Linked DNA regions of Homo sapiens: all the other regions are linked to region 4. Evidence: promoter capture Hi-C in 16 types of primary human blood cells and fetal thymus (Javierre and others, 2016). All regions are on one chromosome and are shown on one strand. The core of a region is centred on a gene start or on the middle of the fragment in contact, and the rest is flanking DNA. Distances in the headings are between cores, read along the strand shown.

Evidence for each region. Contacts are between HindIII fragments. The CHiCAGO score rates a contact against its expected background, and 5 or more counts as called.
Region 1: a fragment that was not itself captured here is called in contact with the fragment with the promoter of SPRY2 in region 4 in 3 of 17 cell types (M0 macrophages, M2 macrophages and M1 macrophages); the score reaches 6.5 in M0 macrophages.
Region 2: a contact is called between a fragment that was not itself captured here and the fragment with the promoter of SPRY2 in region 4, in 3 of 17 cell types (M2 macrophages, M1 macrophages and neutrophils). The highest score is 7.1, in M2 macrophages.
Region 3: a fragment that was not itself captured here is called in contact with the fragment with the promoter of SPRY2 in region 4 in 4 of 17 cell types (M0 macrophages, M1 macrophages, M2 macrophages and 1 more); the score reaches 8.7 in M0 macrophages.
Region 5: a contact is called between a fragment that was not itself captured here and the fragment with the promoter of SPRY2 in region 4, in 6 of 17 cell types (M2 macrophages, M0 macrophages, erythroblasts and 3 more). The highest score is 9.4, in M2 macrophages.
Region 6: a contact is called between a fragment that was not itself captured here and the fragment with the promoter of SPRY2 in region 4, in 2 of 17 cell types (endothelial precursors and M0 macrophages). The highest score is 7.1, in endothelial precursors.
Region 7: a contact is called between a fragment that was not itself captured here and the fragment with the promoter of SPRY2 in region 4, in 5 of 17 cell types (M0 macrophages, monocytes, M1 macrophages and 2 more). The highest score is 9.4, in M0 macrophages.

The regions. Positions count from the first base shown.
Region 1 is chr13:79,910,935-79,913,881 of GRCh38, forward strand. It overlaps LINC00382 (long intergenic non-protein coding RNA 382), which reads left to right. Exons shown (of 6, transcript NR_120413.1): 3 at 1,461-1,568. Among named protein-coding and RNA genes, the nearest start is that of LINC00382, 40 kb to the left of the region's middle. The HindIII fragment of the contact is 244 bases long and covers 1,275-1,518 here.
Region 2 is chr13:79,948,725-79,951,714 of GRCh38, forward strand. No RefSeq gene overlaps it. Among named protein-coding and RNA genes, the nearest start is that of LINC01080, 61 kb to the right of the region's middle. The HindIII fragment of the contact is 1,815 bases long and covers 551-2,365 here.
Region 3 is chr13:79,987,197-79,990,172 of GRCh38, forward strand. No RefSeq gene overlaps it. Among named protein-coding and RNA genes, the nearest start is that of LINC01080, 22 kb to the right of the region's middle. The HindIII fragment of the contact is 862 bases long and covers 1,096-1,957 here.
Region 4 is chr13:80,339,751-80,342,500 of GRCh38, forward strand. It overlaps SPRY2 (sprouty RTK signaling antagonist 2), which reads right to left and starts at 1,376. Exons shown (of 2, transcript NM_005842.4): 1 at 872-1,376. RefSeq lists silencers at 1,324-1,513, 1,744-1,793. The HindIII fragment of the contact is 9,098 bases long and covers 1-2,750 here.
Region 5 is chr13:79,971,205-79,973,976 of GRCh38, forward strand. No RefSeq gene overlaps it. Among named protein-coding and RNA genes, the nearest start is that of LINC01080, 38 kb to the right of the region's middle. The HindIII fragment of the contact is 423 bases long and covers 1,176-1,598 here.
Region 6 is chr13:79,931,355-79,934,054 of GRCh38, forward strand. No RefSeq gene overlaps it. Among named protein-coding and RNA genes, the nearest start is that of LINC00382, 60 kb to the left of the region's middle. The HindIII fragment of the contact is 1,518 bases long and covers 615-2,132 here.
Region 7 is chr13:80,006,158-80,008,857 of GRCh38, forward strand. No RefSeq gene overlaps it. Among named protein-coding and RNA genes, the nearest start is that of LINC01080, 3.6 kb to the right of the region's middle. The HindIII fragment of the contact is 926 bases long and covers 790-1,715 here.

The DNA.
Region 1 (2,947 bases), core at 147-2,646, 430 kb before region 4:
TCGGTAAAATAACCAGAGGCTATAGAAATTCCTGCCTAGACTTGGGTTTTTAGACATGCTTTCTTTATTCTCAACACCCGTGCACATGAGAAACTGCAGCTCAAGCACAGACTTGGCAGGCAGAGCCTGTTCACTGTTTTCTTAAACGCTCTTCCTTTCTGTACAGTCGTACCTATTTTAGGGGCACTAAGCAGCCTCACACTCGCCTCTCAGGCTTCTGAAGGGTATTGAGTACTTGTTTGGAGCACATAATTTATGCTGTGCTGAAAAATAGCTGAGACTGTAATGGTGCCCAGAGAACCCAAGTTCTCTGAAGACCAAGATCACATTAATATGCAGTATTTCATTTACAAACCCCTTCTAAGTAGGTTTGAGAGGATAATGCCTTGTTTGAATAATAATATAGCACATTTTACTTTTCAAAGTGCTTTCACATAAATCATCCATCTCATTTTATTTTTGAAACAATGAGGGAGATAAGGCCAGGATTATTACCTATAGGGAATCAAAAGCTCAGAAAGGTCAAGTGATTTACTCAAAGTCACATTGCAAGTTCTCTGTAAAGCTGAGATTAGAAGCTGTGATTCTCCCATTCCCAGCTCAGCTGGGTCTTTTTAAAAGCGTGTTAGGACCCACAGCTTCATGGGTGGAATACTGAAATTCTCAGGCCCAGCCTCTTGCCTCTAAGTGTTCCATTTCTATACTTTGCTTTTAGCATCATTTAGATGTCGTGGTCTTAAAAAATGGTAATAAATTTTAAATAAAAGTGTATAATTTAATCTTTTCTTTTAGGAAATGACTTTAGAAATTCAACCTGAAAGCATTATCAATTTCTTGAGCTAAGTTTACAAAATTGGATGCAAGTTGCATATGACAGTGATTCTTGATATTTGTTTTTCATCCTTATGTTTAATCATAGGCATGGTTTGAGTTTCATGTGAGATAACTAATGGGAAAGCACTTTGTAATTTTGAAACATTGTGATAGTAAGAGCTGACATGACAGTGTCAGAAATTATTTAATTAATTTAGTTTAACAGTTTCAATTTGTTAGAAATGGTATTTTGACTTGTTCACATAGTATCTATGCTTAGTCCCTTTTTTATAAATTTCATTTTATAATTCTTTTAAATACATACATTCATGTTATTTTATATAATATGTGATTAAATATATGTGTATATACATATATAAATTACTATTTTTGTCTTTATTAAATTCTCATACATACTGGGATTCTCTCACTTAATTTTCTAGTTTTTAAAATATTCTTAAAGCTTATGGGAAATGTTCCAATTAATTCACTCTGGCACCATGATCTGTCTATAACTTCAAAGGGCTATGCTTAAAAATCCAAAAGCCATAAACTAAAGGTATTTTATGGAATTTACTTGACATTTCAGAGGAAAACGAAGGCATTACAAAACAAGCATATTAAGTATACGATTCACATCCCAACAGCTCAAAGGCAAGGAAGACTGAGGAAGCTAAGTTACTGGCCATATGTTTAATAAATATAAGCTTAATGGCAGTGAATGTATTAATGTCAGCGAAGACAAGTCTATGAAGGTATGTAGTCCAGTGTGAACCCTATCTGGCATGCACTGATCTTTCTGTTCATAAGAATCTTAACCATGCCAATCTTCATGATTGTTTTAGCTCTATTATGCAATAGGTAAGTGTCAGCTTTGGGACAGATACCATAGTAACGGTAGACTTACAATTACAGTAGAATCAAAATATATCTTTGTCAGCCAAGTATTTGACAAGATCTTGGTATATCCTTGTGTATATTAAAGAAAGCCAGGCTGGATGAGAACATAGCTGGAGACTGAAAACCGACATTCCAAGATTGTTGATTAGTTAAATGAAATTCTGAATTTTTGCACCACTGAATTCTTTCATTGGCCATGAATGTAATACTTTATCAAAGTTTTGGATGAGAACATTGAGGGCAGGGTTATTCCCGGTTATTCCAGATGACCCAGAGCACTGAGGATTACTTTCACGACAGAAGAACCAAGAATACAAAACCACCTCAACAGATTATAACCAAGTAGTGACATTTACCCAGGATATTAGTAAAGTTCCCCACATTGATTCAAAAAATAAATTGTGTAGATAAACATTGCATTTGAACAATACAAATGTTCTAAGATATTTATACTTTTTGTCATCTTTTTCTGCCACAAATGAGCTGTATAATCTGGCCAGAAATACCTAGGTAAATACGGTGTTTCTCTATTTTACTTTGAATGTAAGACTCAACTTCAGTATCTAAGTGTTAGTGAGTATATTTTTATAAGTACTGTTGTTCCAAATCACTTGCTGTCAGTTTAATTCTGTAAATGCATGACAGGTGCCTAATCTGATTTAAGCATCACAGAACATTCCAGGAAAAAGGAAATGAATAAGATGTCATCTCTGACCTCCAAGGTTTAATGGAGAAGGCAGGCCCCCAAAGCAATCAGTGCAAAGACACTTACAAGAAGGGTGCTGTGGCTACCTAGCTATCAGCTGTGACAGTTGTTCTTGGATTTTCATTTTCATATACACCTCTTTTACCTGAAAGATGTCCCTTGCCCCTTTTTAACTTTGCCTTTTAGGAGTAAGGCAGTGAGCTATTCTCACACCACTGTGAAGTCATCAGTCCATCTTTCCCTGACTAATGGCTATAAAGCAGCAAGAGTTTCCTAATTGGCATTTCAAAGAACACTAGGGATCAATTACACATAAAATGTTTATTTATAAAACTGTCATAAACTACAGGTTCAATTTGTTTGACCTTCTGGTAATTAGCACAGACTTACAATAGAGAAAGTTAGGTTACACCAAATACTTTTATTCTTGTTATTTCTACAGGAAAGAATCAAAGCACACAAACAAAACAAAAAAAGTAATAGCAGCATATTCTTCCCGGTGGGAGCAAGAGAAGAAAAGAGTACTCT
Region 2 (2,990 bases), core at 208-2,707, 390 kb before region 4:
CACTGGGTCTCTGTGATTCTAATCCCACGTGGGTAAAATAGAGCAATCTTTCTCATATCCCATAATGGTAAGTGCTGCCATTGATCTTACCCATTTCATTTCTATGTGAATGGTAATCATAAGCCTTGGAATTTTTGGTAAAGTTTTAATTTCAAGAAGTTGATCATTTCTTAAATGTATAAGTGAGACAGTTTGCATAATGTTTAAAAACCTTCATATAAATAAATTCATAATTTTAAAAACTCCCTCTTTTTTTTCTGACCTTGTATCTTGATTGGTGTCTCTGAATATGTAAACTATCTTAGGAAAAACACTAAAAACCCAAGTCAAAATTGTGGCTTGTGGGGGCCCTTAGTAAATTAACTCCTTATCTACTTGTTTAAACTGATATTCTATGAAAATAAGTTTCATATTTACTTAAAGTCTAATGAAAAGCTGGTTTTCAATTAGTGAAAATTATACACAATAGGGTAGTTTTAACAAGTATTTTAAGAATACATTTGAGATGATGTATGATGAAGATTAATTGGAACATCAGTTATAATGTCAAAGCTTATAAACAACTAAAATGTACATCAGTGAGAGTTAATATATTAATTATCATTCTACCACACAATGCAATGCCTTATAAACCATTTAAAAAATATGAAATTCTGTATTTGTGATATGGAAAGTTTTCCAAGATGTTTTAAGGGAAAAAAATTACAAGGTGCAGAACAACATATATAGCATTTTCCCATTTATGTGGAATAATATTTCTGTGGATAATTTTAGAAATGAATGGAATATCTCCTGAAGTTTATGAAAACTGGTTGTCTTTGAGGAGTGGAATGGTTTTTGAGGCACAGGGGAAAATGAGAGATTTTTCATTGTACGCCATATAGTGCATTTCTATCTTATATCATGTACATTAATCCTACTTAATATTCACAAATATTATAAATAAATGAAGCAAAATAAGGAATTTATCACATATTTTGTTACATGCTGTTTCCCATCATAATACAACTTATTGGGAGGCATTCTAATTCCTAAAATTTAGGTAATCACAAATAACTTTTTCCTTGTAAAATGGGCTTGACATCCATGATTACTTTTCAGAAATTCTGCTGAAACTGCTGACTTTGTATGACTATATGCTAGCTGACTTCAGAGAGTTTGGCGCTCTTGATCAAGAGCATATCTGCAAGGGCTTTAAAAAAATCTATTTCCATTCAATATAATTTCTATTTCTCTGGTTATTTTAGAAGTTGAATGAGAAAGCCTTTATTAACTGCCACCATATCCCTGATTTATTCCAGTAATGTCCAGTAATGTTTATTGACCTTTCAGAGTGGAGCACTTGGAACTTGCCCATCTGAGTTGCTTCTTAATCCTACTGTGGTTTCACACCAATGTAAGAGTTTTGCTAATGTTATATTACTTAAAACCAAATAGAAAATAAAATAAGAGTTTAAAACCTTATTTCAATTTTATCCCAGACAGAAGTTTGGACATTTGGGACCCCTTAATGATGGTGACAACTCTTTAAATCTATTGTTAAGATGTGAACATTTGAACTCTCATTAAAGATAGAATTTAAATGAAAAGAGAAAAAGAACTAAAGTAGCAAAAGAGATGTTAAGAGAATTTATAAAAGGAAAGATATAGAGTTATTTCTTCAAATCTTCAAAATTTTGGTTTAGTGATATTATGCTCTTTCCAATTTAATTTCATTTTATTTGAATAATGCCTGTTATGAGTGTTGTTTATGATGATGATAAAAATGATCTATAGTATAGAAAACACTCCATTATGTAGCTCTTATGACCAGACATTTTCCATTAAGTTTTAGATATATTATTTCTTCTTTTCTTTATGTATACTTTATTTATTTTTGAGTGCATATGGAAAATATAATCATTTTGCTTTGCTACAAATAAAATCTGATTTCTTCTGATTTTACATATAGTTTGTGTATGAATTACATGAGAAAACTTCATTAAAACAACCTGACCTTACTAGCGAATGTCCTTTTATACCACTTTTGCCAGAAAATGGAGCCAAATTACTGAAACACCTCTAAAATTTTGAAAAGCAAACAGAAGTTTAATTGGGAAAATTATGCCAATTCATTGTTATTTAATATTTTAGCAAGGGATTTTTTTCCAGTAATATCAATGAATCTTATACTCTAAAAGCTGCAATATAATCCATTTAACTTACAAAAACCTGGCTCTATAGTCCACCTATGAAGAGTGGAAAAGGGAAGAGTAATTTCAAGTGGATAAATCTAACAAGCAATAACTCAATCAGACGACAAAGGTCAACATCAACCATGATAAGTAAATGACACCTTGTACAGCTGGGTACCCCTCTGAAAGGAAGCTTCCAGAGGAAGGATCAGGCAGCGATATTTGTTGTTCTGCAATATTTGCTGTTCTGCAGCCTTTGCTGGTGATACCCAGGCAAACAGGGTCTGGAGTGGAACTCCAGCAAACTCCAACAGATCTGCAGCTGAGGGTCCTGACTGTTAGAAGGAAAACTAACAAACAGAAAGGAATAGTATCAACATCAACAAAAAGGACATCCACACCAAAACTCCATCTGTAGGTCATCATCATCAAAGAGCAAATGTAGATAAAACCACAAAGATGGGGAGAAACCAGAGCAGAAAAGCTGAAAATTCTAAAAACCAGAGTGCCTCTTCTCCTCCAAAGGAGCACAGCTCCTCACCAGAAATGGAACAAAGCTGGATGGAGAATGACTTTGATGAATTGACAGAAGTAGGCTTCAGAAGGTCGATAATAACAAACTTCTCCAAGCTAAAGAAGGATATTTGAACCCATTGCAAGGAAGCTAAAAACCTTGAAAAAAGATTAGACAAATAGCTAACTAGAATAAACAGCATAGAGAAGACCTCAAATGACCTGAGGGAGCTGAAAACCATGGCACGAGAACTTTGTGTTACATGCACAAGCTTCAGTAGCCGATTCGATCAAGTGGAAGGA
Region 3 (2,976 bases), core at 277-2,776, 350 kb before region 4:
TTTTAAAATATTCACATTTATCTGCAGTATCTGTGGAGTCCCATCAATTTTGGCTATTGATGACTTACAATAGACAAGGTTTGGATTTTCCCATTTTGCAAAGAAAAAAAAGATCATCGGGGATATTTTTGTTATGTTCTGGTACATCTGGTTCTCACTCTGTCCTACAAACTAAAATAGTGAAATCCTGATTGTCAGCCTCTGAGACAGCAGAGGTTTCATTGTGAAGCATGACTCTGCCTTGCCTGTCCCTCCCAATAAACAATTGCTCACTGTGGGCTTGGGGTCCACACCCAAGGTAAATGACTCAGTTGCAATTTCAAAAATACCATAAACAAGCACAGAATATTTGTACAAGGCAATAGAACAATTAAGCTTAGTTTAACCAAGTTGTCTCATTTAATTACTATGGCATTGAATGGCATTGAGCAGAATGCTAAGAGCAGTAAGAATAAGTATTGCCATAACCACTGGAGATACTATTCAGAGTTGAATTTTTGCCCTTAGCACTTATTTTTATTTCCTTCCTCTACAGATTTGGTCCCAGCGCTGGTTAGCCTGTGCAATTATTTATTCCACAGACATTGCTTAGTTTCAATTTATCCCCTTTGAGCTGTAGGAGCTCTAATAAACACTTCTTTTGTTTTGGATTTCAGTTTTCACCACTGAATTTCTGAATCATAGAATCTCTGGAGTTTCATCCTTCTAGTTCCAAAAATATTTAATTAACTATGGATTACAGAGCAAGAGAGTCATTTAGAGTGATGTTAGTCAGAGGAAGCAACTTCAGAGGAGGCTCATACCTGGAAGGCCCATCTTTCACCTTCCCTCTCCCACCTTAGCAAGTTTCTACAATGCCTTCTAGACTTGGTTCCAAGGTCACCTACTCTTTGAGAATGTTCTTAACTGCCCCTGTAAATGATTTCTCCTCTCTGGCCCACAAGTCTCTGCATATGACATAGTGTAGCTTACCTGTACACACATCTGCTTTCTCCCATATACTGTGAGCTACACAATAACAAGAGCCATCTCACCCATCTTTGAGCAAACAGAGGTACCCTTCCTATAATAAAAATACCATTTATTTATTTCAGAAGCTTTCAATAGTTGATACATCTTATATTTTATGAATGTTCCATATGTATTATATATATGTTCCAAACAAGACTGTAAGTGTCCTCAGTGAACATACAATGTGTGTGCCTTCTTTTGGTGTTTTCCTCAGCTCTGGGTACACGTGCTTAGAAAGTAGATGCTATAATTCCCTGTATTGGAATAAGATAGATGGCAATATTTCTGATGAGCCTTCCTTAAGAATTCCCCTGTTTATCACCACTTGAAAGCACTTATTAATTTACTTATACTTAGTTCATATAAAGAAGTTTAAATGGTTTAATCTATGATTTTAGACAGCTAAATATAGGCACACAATTGTTAGCTCCTGGAGGGCAAGGAAGTTGCTAGTTTATCTTGCCTTACAGAGTACATTAAACAGTACAAAGTATTATCACTATTTAAAAAAATACTCTTTTACGACAGGGCTGAGTCATGGGGCCACGGAGCTGATGTGAACAAGCAATGTTCAGACTCAGAGAGTAAAATGCAGAGATACTTTTAGTGTCATTGCATATTCTCCATTCCAGACTCTCTACTGCAAGCTCTTTCTTTGTGATTTGGCCAACCCAACAGAGAAGAACGTTGAGAGGATTTCTTTCTGCACATTCATTGGCAGTAAGTCCAATGTTAATCCATCCTCAGGCTAATGGCCAGTTGGGACCAGAGGTAAACTACTAGTGGCTAACTATTCAAACAGGAAAAATGGTTTGAGACATTGTAAATTCTCACGTAAATTCATTTATGCCAAAACAGGCTAAGTTTCTTTTTCCTAGAAAACCAGGACAAGGATTTTAATCAAATCATTCAGGTAATTGCCTTAATATGTTTTGCCTTTGTGGGAAGCTTTTGACTTTTTACTTCTCGCCTATTTGCTGATGATATGGTAGTAATCTCTTGGAAGACCTAGGCACCTGGCCGGCAGTCATTCTCTCCACCCTCTGGCTTGACACCATCCTGGGTGACTCCAACTGACAACTTTGCCTCAAGGTTCCTTGCCTGCTTCAGCTTCCAGAATTTTCCGCCACCCCAGGCACCCACTCCATGGTCACACCCTAGATCTTATCACATGCAGATTGCACCATCTCTCAAATAAAGTAGTCACAGTCATTCTTAACCATGCATTCCTCACCATCTCTCTCACTTTATTGTTCCCAACACCAGCTCTTTGACTTTAGTGCTTTATTTTATAGAGTCCCTTGTCCCTCTCCCCATTAGGTCCCTCCTGTCTTTACTTAGCTCCTTAGTCATGCCATTACTTCATCCTTTTGTTTACCAGTTTGCTAAAACCTCTATTCTGTGGTCATTCCGCCATTCCTCATTGGAGAAAACCCTACAAACCTTAATACATTCTACTGCTACATTCTCTGCTTTTGCATGCAGCTCACTGACATTTCAAGAGAAAAATCATACAGTGGTCAGAATTGGTCCACTACATATTTATGTCTTTCATTTTGATGGGGCACTTGTGGCTCTCTAATGCACTACTATATTTTTCCTGGTCAACAAGCAATGATTCCATGTAGTATTTCAACAATACCTATGCCTCTCAAAAGTCCATCACCCCACCCCAGAAGCCCCCTCAGCTATTAGCCCGTGATCTTCTATTTAATAGAGAAAACAAATAATGCAACAGTAATTTTCTCAATTTACTTTTATACAACTCAATAGTTTCCTTCTCTTCCCTGTCAAAATGAAAAATATTTTCTTCCTTTTCCCTCTTCTTACAGGCTGAAATCTGATTATTCCCTCTCACTCTTTATTTTTAACGTCTTTCTTTACTGGCACATTTAAATATGCAGATGCATTTTCAGTGGGGGTGGGCAACTCCCTCCCCCTCCACTATTTCTCCCTCTAGTTTTC
Region 4 (2,750 bases), core at 126-2,625:
CAAACGGACACAGAAACTGCTTTGTAAAAAACACACAAGAATCCAAATTAAAACACAGCAACAACAACAACAAAAGGAAATAAAAAATTGCCTATTTTGCCACCTACTTTCAGGTAATGGAAAATGATCGCGACCGCTTGATGACTTTCTTCCTGCGCTGGGTCAGCCCGAGCTTCCAAAAATAAAATAAGTGTGACCCAGGCTGACCACGAAGAACGGAAGAGAGAGAGCTGCACTTCCGAACCGCAGAGACCCGGCGCCAGGCAGGGCGACGCTCCCACCCGCTCCGGGCTAGACTGTCCACACGGAGCAGAGGCGGGCACTCCCTCCACCCGGCACCCTGCCTTTTTCTCACCCTGGAAGTCTCCTGCCCCCGAGGCGGGCAACCTGTGTCCCCCAGCCCCACCAGCGCCCCGCCTAGGGACAGCCTCTCCCTGGACTTTGCCTTCCACCAAGAGGAAGAACAGGTTAGAAATGCGGGCGCCTGCAAAGGCAACCTGGAAAATACAAAGTGTTTTTCTCTCCCTCTCCCGCTCTCAGCGCCGAATTCGCGGCCAGTGCACGGCTGGGAGCAGACTTCAGGCTAGCTGTCCTCCGTCCCAACCCCCTAGAGCGCGGGCGCGCGGGGTCGCCTGTCGGGGACACTGCACGGGGTGCATACAGAAGTCCCCGCAGAGGCAGGCCGAGCCCAAGCCCCGGGCGAGGCAGGTCCGCGGGGAGCGCCCCGGATCCTCGCGAAGACCCTGCGGGATTTGAGAAAGGGAGGCTCGGGGAGAGACGGACCCAACTCCTGGTCCGGCTGCACCTACTCCATGTTGCCCACAACGCGCCGGCCGCGGCGCCAGGAGGGGAAGAGCCAAACGTGCCTCACCGTGATCGCGGCTTTGCACCAACCCCTCTCCCTTGGATTCTCTTCTTTCTGCGATGTGCAAATAAATCCAGTCTCGATGCAAACTTTTTTCCTTTCTTTCCAACCTCTGCTTTAGACCAACTTCCGAGCAATCGGCGGGAGAAAAAAAGAGAATTCGGAGCCAGATTCCCCGCTGATGAACACTCCGGGGTTCGGAGCTGGAGACGACTCCCCTTCTACAAGCGCACGCGGAGTATTTCCTCTTTTTTCTCAATGAACAAGAGGCCGAAGCGCCAACGGCAAGTCCCTTTTCCTGGCAGATGAGCGAATGGGAAAAGAAAACGGCCTTACGGAGAACCTAAAGCCAGATCGCCAAGTGGTGCGGCCGGGGCCGCGTCGTAGCGGAGGCGGCGCGGGGGCGCGGGCCGGGCCGGGCCGGGCGGGCGCGGGGGCCTGGGCGCTGCGCGCTCCGCCGGCCCCTCTCCTCCGCTAGCGCTGCGGCGCGCAGCTCTCGGCGGTGCAGACTGGGCGTTGTGGAGGCGAGGCAGCGAGGCCGAGGCGGGGGCGGTGGGTGCGGAGGAGGAGGAAGAGGAGGAGGAGGAGGAGGAGGAGGGTCTGGGGCCCGCCCGGGGGGGGCTCGCCGTTGGCCTGCGCCCTCGCCTTTCCGGAGGAGGCAGGGAGCTCTGCGGCGGCCGCGGCAGCAGTAAATGGCGTCATGTGGATCCGAGGCGGAACAGAGCAGTTGTTGTCCCAGAGGATATATCGCATCCGGTCCCAGCTCATTGGCTCCGCGGGGCTACATTCACTCACACTCCAGCGCCCGCCAGCGCTCCGAGCCGCAGGAGGCATTCAAAAGGGCAACCGCGCCGCCCCGCGCGTCCCCAGGCCGGTCCTGCCGCCCGAGCGCCGTCACGCGGGGCGCCCGCGGGGCCGGGCTGGGCACTGCAGGGTCAGTTTATCTAGTTTCAAGGAAACACTGACCTTAAGGTTTGCCCAGAGGCAATGAGGACGAGCCAGAGGCTCGAGCTGACTTAGGGAACTTTCTCCTTGCCACCAGGAAAGGGGAATGAACATTTAAGACTAATCTGGGCCACGCAGTGTTAGCATGAAAAACAAGTTGCAGGTTTTAAGACTTTATCCAGAATCCATTTCAAGTCTACCTCTCCCCTTTTCTGTTCCCCTTTGCGGAGCGGGTGACGGGGGCTGGGGCGGGGGGAGAAGAAGGGGGAGGGGAAGGGGAGCGGGAAGTGAGGTGGGAGGGCTATTGGTTTATTCTTTGTCTACTGGATTAACCCGATTATACACCAGGCACCAGCACAAACCGCCTCCCCCACCTCCGAGCCTTGTACGGGAGGAACGGAATGCAGATTCGAGTTTCAAGTACCTTCTGCTCTTGCTGGGATTTGCTTTTGATTGTGTCGACTTGTAGTTTTTCCGTTTATTAGAATTTCATTTTTAAGGGGGGTTATCTATGAATGGAGGCTTTTTGAAGAGCTTCCTTACTATTTTGCTTCATGCAGTAGCTAAAGTCTACAGTCTAAGCCTTTTAACTTAATTCATTAATAGACAGGAACAAGATTACTCAGGGCGACAGCATGGGCTTCCGAAATGGGGGGGCGGGGGGGAGGGAAGGGTTGGCTCACTGCAGATTTCCTTCTTCCCTTAACTAAAAGTCATCCTTCATTTCCCACTTTTCTTGCCACCTAGAACATTTCTCAAGATTCTGTTGTCCATGTTGAAGGTGCACTATTCTTTCCCATTTACAAAAAAAAAATAAAGATAGAAAATGCATACATATGCACTGTCCTAGCTGCCGTTCATTTACTAAGAAATGTGCCTTCACGTGGGAGCACCAGTGGAAAATTAAAACTTGCGCATACACACGCCTAATATTGCATTC
Region 5 (2,772 bases), core at 137-2,636, 370 kb before region 4:
ATTTAATATCTTTCTATATTGTAGATGTAGGCATCTAGTGCTGTAATCTCCTCTTAGCTACTTTTGCTGTATTCCAGAGGTTTTGGTATGTTGTGTCTCTGTTTCCATTGGTTTTTAAAAAATGTTGATTTCTGCCATAATTTTTGTTTACTCAAACGTTATTCAGGAGCAAACTGTTTAATTTCCATGTACTTGTGTGGTTTTGAGAGTTCCTCTTGGTGTTGATTTCTAATTTTATTCTACTGTGGTCTGAGACGATGCTTGATATGATTTCAATGTTTTGACATTATTAAGACTTGCTTTCTGACCAAGCATATGGTCTATTTTAGAGAATGTTCCATGCACAGCTGAGAAATATGTATAGTCTGCATTGGTAGGTGGAATGTTCCATAGGTGTCTATTATGTCCATTTGGTCAAGAGTACAATTTATGTCCTCAGTTTATTAGTTTTCTGCCTTAATGATCCGTCTAGTGCTGTCAGTAGGGTGTTGAAGTCCTCAACTATTATTGTATGCTTATCTCTTTTTTTAAAGTCTAGTAGTATTTGTTTTATAAATCTGGGTGCTCTGATGTTGGGTGCATACTCAGGATATTCCTGAGTTATTCACTCAGATATGTTTTCTATATTTGGATAGTTAAATCTTCTTGTTGAATTGAATCTTTTATAATTGTATAATGCCATTTTTTTGTATTTTTTTTCCACTGGTTTTGGTTTAAAGTCTGTTTTATCCGATAAAAGAATAGCAATCCCTGCTCTTTTTTTTTGTTTTCAATATGCATGATAGATCTTCCTCCATCCCTTTGCTTTGATCTTGTAGGTATTATTATATATGAAATGGGTCTTTTAAAGGAAGTAGATAATTGGATCATTTTTAAAAATCCATTTTGTCAATCTATGTCTTTTAAGCGAAGTATTTAGGTCATTATATTCAAGGTTAATATTGATATGTGAAGTCATAGTGTTGTCAGCTAGTTGCTTTGTAGTCTCAATTGTGTAATTGCTTTATAGGATCTGTAAACTTTGTACTTATGTGTGCTTTTATGGTTGGTAAGTATTGTCCTTTTGGTGTTATTTAGAGCTCCTTTGAGCATTTCTTGTGGAACTGGTCTGGTAGTGATAAATTCCCTTGGCAGTTGCTTGCCTGGGAAAGACTTTATTTCTCCTTCATTTATGAAGCTTAGTTTGGCAGGATATAAAATTCTTGGCTAATTTTCTTTTTGTTTAAGACGGCTAAAAATAGGCCTCCAATCTCTTCTGGCTTGTAAGGTCTCTGCTTAAAAGTTTGCTGTTAGTGGGATGAGATTTCTTTTGTAGGTAATCTGGCCCTTTTCTCTAGTTATCTTTAAGATTTTTTCTTCAGCATTGACCTTGGATAATCTCATTACTTTTTGCCTTGGGGATGGTCATTTTGTATAGTGTCTTGCAGGTGTTCTCTGAATTTCTTGTATCTGGATGTTGAACTCTCTAGCAAGAATAGGGAAATTTTCCTGAATTATTCCTTCAAATATGTTTTCCAAGTTGCTTATTTTTTCTTCTCTTTCAAGAATGCCAGTAAGTCATAGGTTTGGTCATTTTACATAATCTCATATTTCTCAAAAGCTTTGTTCATTTCTTAAAATTATTTTTTCTTTATTTTTGTCTGACTGGGTTAATTTGAAAGGTTGGTCTTCAAGCTCTGAAATTCTTTCTTCTGCTTGATCTAGTCTATTGTTTCAGCTTCCAATTATATTTTGAAGTTCTTTAGTGAATATTTTTCAATTTCAAAGTTCTATTTGCTTTTTTTAAAATATAGCTATCTTGTGTTTCATATCCAGAATCATTTTTTTCTGGTTTCTTTGTTTCTATTTTCAACTTTCTCTTGGATTTTGTTGAGTTTCTTTGTCATCTACATTTTGAATTCTTTATCAAAATGTAGATTTCAGTTTATTTCAGACTTTTCATTTTGGTTAGGACACATTGCTAGAGAGCTAGTGCAATCCTTTGGAGCTGTCAAGACAACTTGTCTTTTTGTATTGCTGAAGTTCAAGCACTGATTCCCTTTCATCTAAGGGAGCTGTTATTTCTTATTTTTGAATTTGCTATTCTTTGAATGGGACTTTTAAAATTTTTATTCTTTTTTCCCTTGAGAATATGACTGTGTTGTATGTTACGTATGATTGGTTTAATTTCTGGGTGCTTTCATGGGGTCAAAGCTCTGTATGGGTTCCTTGGTTGTGGATAGCTTCTATGTGGTGGCTTTCTCAGATGTTGCTTGTTGTAGTGATGTATTGGACATAAGAGCCAACATGCTGTCTCGTGCATGGCTGAGGATGTGGAGGTCTCAGAAAGCTTATCTCATCCACTAAGCACTAAGCCCTTCTGGCAGATTTTTTTTTTTTTTATTTAGTGGTGCAGTTTAGCCTCCAGTCCAGTAGGTGGTGCTTAAGAGTAAGAGCCAACTCAGGAAAACTAATAATGAGTGGAAGTTCCCACCCCGATGGGAGTGGTCAGAGGAGACTGTGTTGGAGTGCACTGAGGTCTCTGGGGATGGTGCAGGGAGGGGCGCACCAGTTCCTATCCTGAGCCCACAGGAACACAATCTGTTTCCTTTTCACACCTTTGTCACAGGGCTCATGACCTTCAGCTCATTTAGACTTTGAACATTTGGTTCCATGCCATAGTGTGGCTGCAGGCCTTGTATACACCCCTCCGGTGGCCACCACCAAAATGGGCCCCAGGCAGAGCCTCTTCATCCAGTCCTCGGTGGACAACTCTGTGGCTTGTCTGCTCTT
Region 6 (2,700 bases), core at 124-2,623, 410 kb before region 4:
CGGGTATGGTTGGAGTATGTATCAGGAGTTGGATGGAAAACTGAAGAGTGACAGAAGTATCTTGACCAACTTTGGTATTGTCTTTTGAGTTTTGCACTTTATTCTAAAGATTGTAACACACCATCATATTCAAAGTTGCTTTTAATAAATTCCTACTTAAAAAAGACATATGATAAGTGTTGCAGGAAACACAAACAAGCAAACATTTGTACATTAATAGCCTTCCAAAGAATAAATCTTTGTGCCAGAAGGTGAAATTGATTGAAAGGTTTTGTCCATTCCAGGCACAACTTTGGCTCTTTGCAATTTCTATAAATGCCAAACATAAGTGGAAATCTGCTGTGACATGTATTCAATAATAAAATTGTCCCTCACGTGGACATTGCACCTGAGGCTTTGACAAAATATCCTTCTAACAGTGTAGTGCAACCTGATACCCATCCCCAAAGACTGGGCTGAGCCTTAAGTCATTGCTTCACCCCAAATAAAATGTTCTTATTTCTTCCCCCTTCGCCTGTGCTCTTTATTTCTATTAAACTTCTTTGTAAATGTATGCTCTGTAAAGTTAAGAGTGAGAGAATGCAAGTGCTGCCGGAAAGAATGAAGAGTTCACAAGCTTAGAACAGAAAGGGAGTTACTAAACTATTAAGCTCAATTAACAAGTGAAAAATGAACTAAGTTGTTCCAGAGTGATTTTTAATTCTGTCAAATAAAGAGGAACCAGACTGCAGGGTAAACTCTTATTTATTAGTTTTGGGTAATGAGGTTTTCCATAAGCAGAATTTCTTAAATTTTATTGAATCCATAAAATCACCAGTTGGAAATCTGGTTTTTCCCACCAGAGTAGGATTTTAATGGAGCATACAGAAAACACCCAAGTGCTGTAAAGTAACTGTATGGAGGTGAAATGGTCTATGAGTTATATTATTGGCCTGGCTGACAGGGTTTCAGAAGTCCTTCATTTGAATTTAATCTCTACTATGTACCTCTTGTGCATTAATTTTTACCTTGAGGATAATGGTTCTGTACTTTCTTTATGGTTATTACCAAGGAACCATGATAAAAATAGTAATGTCAGGGCCTCCCTGTTCTAGCCTCAGACTGAACAGAACACCGCTATGTGGAGTGTATGCCGACGGGTCCTAAACCTCTGCTAAAGAAGGATCAAGGCACAGGTGCGACAACCCCCTTATAGTACAGATAGCTTTGCTGTACTCCATGGCCAAAGGGCACATCTTACCCTAGTCTACTGCCTTGTGAACACCTGCCTTCATTTATAAAAGAGTCAAGGGAAAAAGCATGCTGGAGGAGCATAAATCCGTCCCCACAACTCGAAAATGGCATAAAGAACCTGCTTTGAAGATAGTCAATACTTCCTTCCTTATTTCTGAAGTTATTGGCAGTAAAGGAAATTCCTTTAGTGTGAGACCAGTCTTCATATCTCTGTTTGCATTATGTGTTTTTAAAGACACACACACAAAATGAAATAATGAGGGCTTGGAAATTGTCAACTAACTTTTGCAAGACTGCCTAGATCAAGTGTAATGTTTCTACACTTGTCTTTGTTAAATGAAAGACATATGATGTGGTTCAAAAGTTGTGTACCCCAGTGTACAGAACTTATCAGAAGAATTGATTTTCAGTCCTACTAGTGAGACTATATTTAGCTATCAAATGGACTGCTTTGCCTAAATTCTATAGTGCTTCAAGCCAGGCATATCAAGAAACCAATTGTATACTTCCCTTCTCTCGCCAAAAACTCTTTTGCTACTTCCACCTCATAAATGGTAATCCCAAGGGTAAATTAGAGTTTTGTGGGGTCTGGAGCATGTAAAATATAAAGCTCTTTTTAAGAGTTTTTTTTTTTTTCCTAATTGTTGCCTACTGTACCATGTTAATTGCAGAATAACTGTAGGAATGGTATTGATGATAGATTCATTCCACTACTCCAGGGAGCTGTGCTTTTCTAGTATTTTCTCCTACCTGGTAAACCTAAGGGCCACATCCCTCCAAAGATGTGTCCTGTGTGAGTGGACAGTCAGGCATGGCTGCAGGTAGATTGTACCAGCTGATGGTAGCCATGGCCTCACCCTTACTGCCTGCTTTTCCAACTTAAGAGTGTTTATCATGGAAGCTTCTGTGTCCTGAATTAGGCTTATACCTTAGACTTAGATGTTGGACTGGCTGTTTCTAGCCTCAGGACATTTTCCATCCAATAGTAATACCTGGCTTCTTGCCAGGTGGCCCAGGTATCCTCAAAGGCACATGAGAGATCTCTGTTACTCCCCTTTCTACCACCTTCAGGGTCTAGCTCCATAAGGCACATTGGAACTCCGTGGTAGCCCCAATGCCCTGTTACCCACTCATCTGACGTCCCATTGAAAATGTGTTCTAGATAAAACAGCAATCTCCTGGGAATCTTATCCTGTTACATATTTTTTTTCTGAAAATAATTATCTCCAATTTTATGATATAACACATAGTCATTTAAGCATTATCAAAAGCCTAGGAATTTAAGGCCAGCCAGGGCAACATAGTGACATCTCCATTTCTAAACACCACCCCCCCAACACACAAACTTCCACCTTCTGGTTCTTCCATGAACATTTCCCACTGCCATTTTTTATTTTATTTTATTTGTAGTCAAGAGAGAGAAGGAGACTGAAAAAATAGCATTCATTTTATTGGAAAAGAAACAGC
Region 7 (2,700 bases), core at 3-2,502, 330 kb before region 4:
ATTCATTAATTCATTAACCAGGAGACAAGACTTTTGCTGCCAATGTTTTATGCTCTTTCTAAGAAACAGCAAGCTCATATTTTCTCTTCTGTGCTGGCTTGATATAACTTCTGTCTCTTCAATTACATCAAATGACTCTTTGTTTATTAAGTTTTGCAGCCTACTTTCTCCCTGAAAGACCCTGGATTCAGGATAGCAACCTTCTGAGTGCCTTCTAAGCCATGTTTTTGTCCAAGTGGGTTCAGGTTATATGTACTGAATATCGAGGACAGTCTCGAAAGAGAAAGGCCACAAAAAATAATATCATGCTGTCTGAAGAGTGGAAGGGGAAGAGCCAGGTATCTTGTCAGTTTGTCTCGGGCCTGAAAAAGGACTTATGTTCTGGTTATGTATGTTAGGCCTAGAGAGTGATGAGACTTATTCAAGAGGTCACTCAAGAAAATCATATTTTTCTTGCCACACCAAATAGCTTTAGGTCCTTCTTAGGAACTGACATCAGCAGCAATTTCTTCTCCTTCGTTCTGAAAGACTGACTCCCTGGGCTAGCTATGATGCTCCCCATCATTTTCCACCCAACTGGAGCTATGAATGGAGGATCACTGTGGGAACAAGGTGCATGCAGGTATGATTAGGTATGGCTGGACAGAGAAGGCTTAGGAACTGAGGATACGCATGGCATAGAGAAGCTTCCATGGCATAACTTTGACAATTATAGCATTTTGTTCTCTAAAATTATTATTGTTCTCCTATTGAAACAGGTCCAAAAGAGAGTTCATTAATTTCTCCAAAAGCTTTTGCACTCTTGTCACTATCCAAACCAAAAACAAAACTGGTGATCGCGCTGTAGAGCAACTGGGGAAAATTGATTGTCAGGATGAAGACAGGGGAGAAAACGTTATGAGAAAAACACAGGTTGCCTTGCTGGGACTGTTTTTGGAAGAAAAATTGTTTTGGAAGGTTATTGTCAGTGATGACAGTGTGAAGGATGAATCAGAGGAGCCAGCGAACAATTGTATCTGACCAGGATGTGGCTAAAATAATAAAGGAAAGCCAGGGATGCTGCATTTTATTAATATTACCTCTATTGCTTTCCAACATTTTTAAAGGCTGGGATACTTATATATGAAGTAAAGCCTAAATAGTTTGGATTTTTATGGAAAAACATAAACATGCATTTAGCAAATGCATGGTGCCTCTAGTGCGGTTGCAGTTTATCAAGTATCTGTTTACTTCTATAGTTCCCTACAAAATAACTAATGAAGATGCTCGCTCCGAGTCCTTCTTCCTCTGCTCACACAAATGGTGACAAATTTCTTTATTATAAAATAAGATTATTAAACTAGACAATCTCTGAAGACCTGACAGCTTTGATAGTTGAGGCTCTGCTTTTGTGAAACCTGAGGTTTTGTGACTTCTCATGCAGTTTAAATATCGAGTGACATTTTCACAGTACTCAGAGACAGCTCAGGTGACTTCTGGATCTTTTTGTTACTTCCAGCAATGATGGAAACTGCCAGATGCTTAACATTAAACTTCATTTTTTCCAAGTGGATGCCAGTGCCTTACAGCTCGAGATCACAATTGCTTTTTGGAATATTGTGTGATAACTGATACCATAGCAGTGCCAGCCATTTCAAAAGAAATGTGACACTTGTTACTTGCCTCGAGAGGGCAATTCAGGGACAGGCAGGGTGGACCTTACTGGATTAAAATGAAGCTTACTGATGAAGCGTAACTCACAAAGCTTATGCCAACTGTTTTCTTTTGGCAGGTCACCAGTGCCACTTAGCTCTCAGTTTAGCAATTATAGGTGCTAATTGCTTTGAAGTTTATCAATCTACCTAAAGGCAAAAGCAATCATCTGCTTAGTTAGATTATTATTCACATCAAGATCATTAATGTGTCTTTGCCCATCAGAATAATGTGTAGTTTGGTAAAATGAAAAGAAACTTGTGTTAGGAGTTAAAGATCTGGGACCTAGAATTTCATCATTTATTTTCTGGGTGTCCTTGGAAGAAATTATTTGTTTTCTCTTGGCCGCTATCACACTTAAAATTTAGAATAATCCCTATGCAACTTTATTTATATTTTCTAAGATTATTGAAAGAATGCATTACTTACAGCTACATGTAATAGGTTAATTAATATTTTAACAAATTAATAAATAAATATATTTTAAATTTTTTTTCACACAAAAAGCAAGTAAAAGAGCCAGAGGGAACACCTAGTTTTACCCTCTAGTTTTATAGGTAACTAAACTGAGACTCAAAGAATTTCATTAACTTAAGCAATGTTTTCACGTTAGTGGAAATAGAAATTCAATGTGCTTTCCATTAGGTCACATTTGTTCTATTTTGAAGATCAAAAGAGATAATAGATGAAATCTATAATATAGAAATGATAATATACTATACTGAGTATTTGAATAGCATATTAGCAAAGGAGAGTAGGTAATGGCATCTTTATTTTCCAAATAAAAAAACAAATACATAGGTCAATTGAAAGATTACTGGGGTCAGCTATCAAGGGTAATGGGTTGGGTTTTTGTTGTCTCTCCCTGATAATATACAGTGTGCTTTCAGTAGGGACGAAACTTACTAGTCACTAAGTGGCAGCATAGAATAATGAAAACAGCATAAGCTCTTGAGGCAAGCAAAGTTAGGTTGCAAACCTGGGCCCATCCCCTACTAGCTATATCAC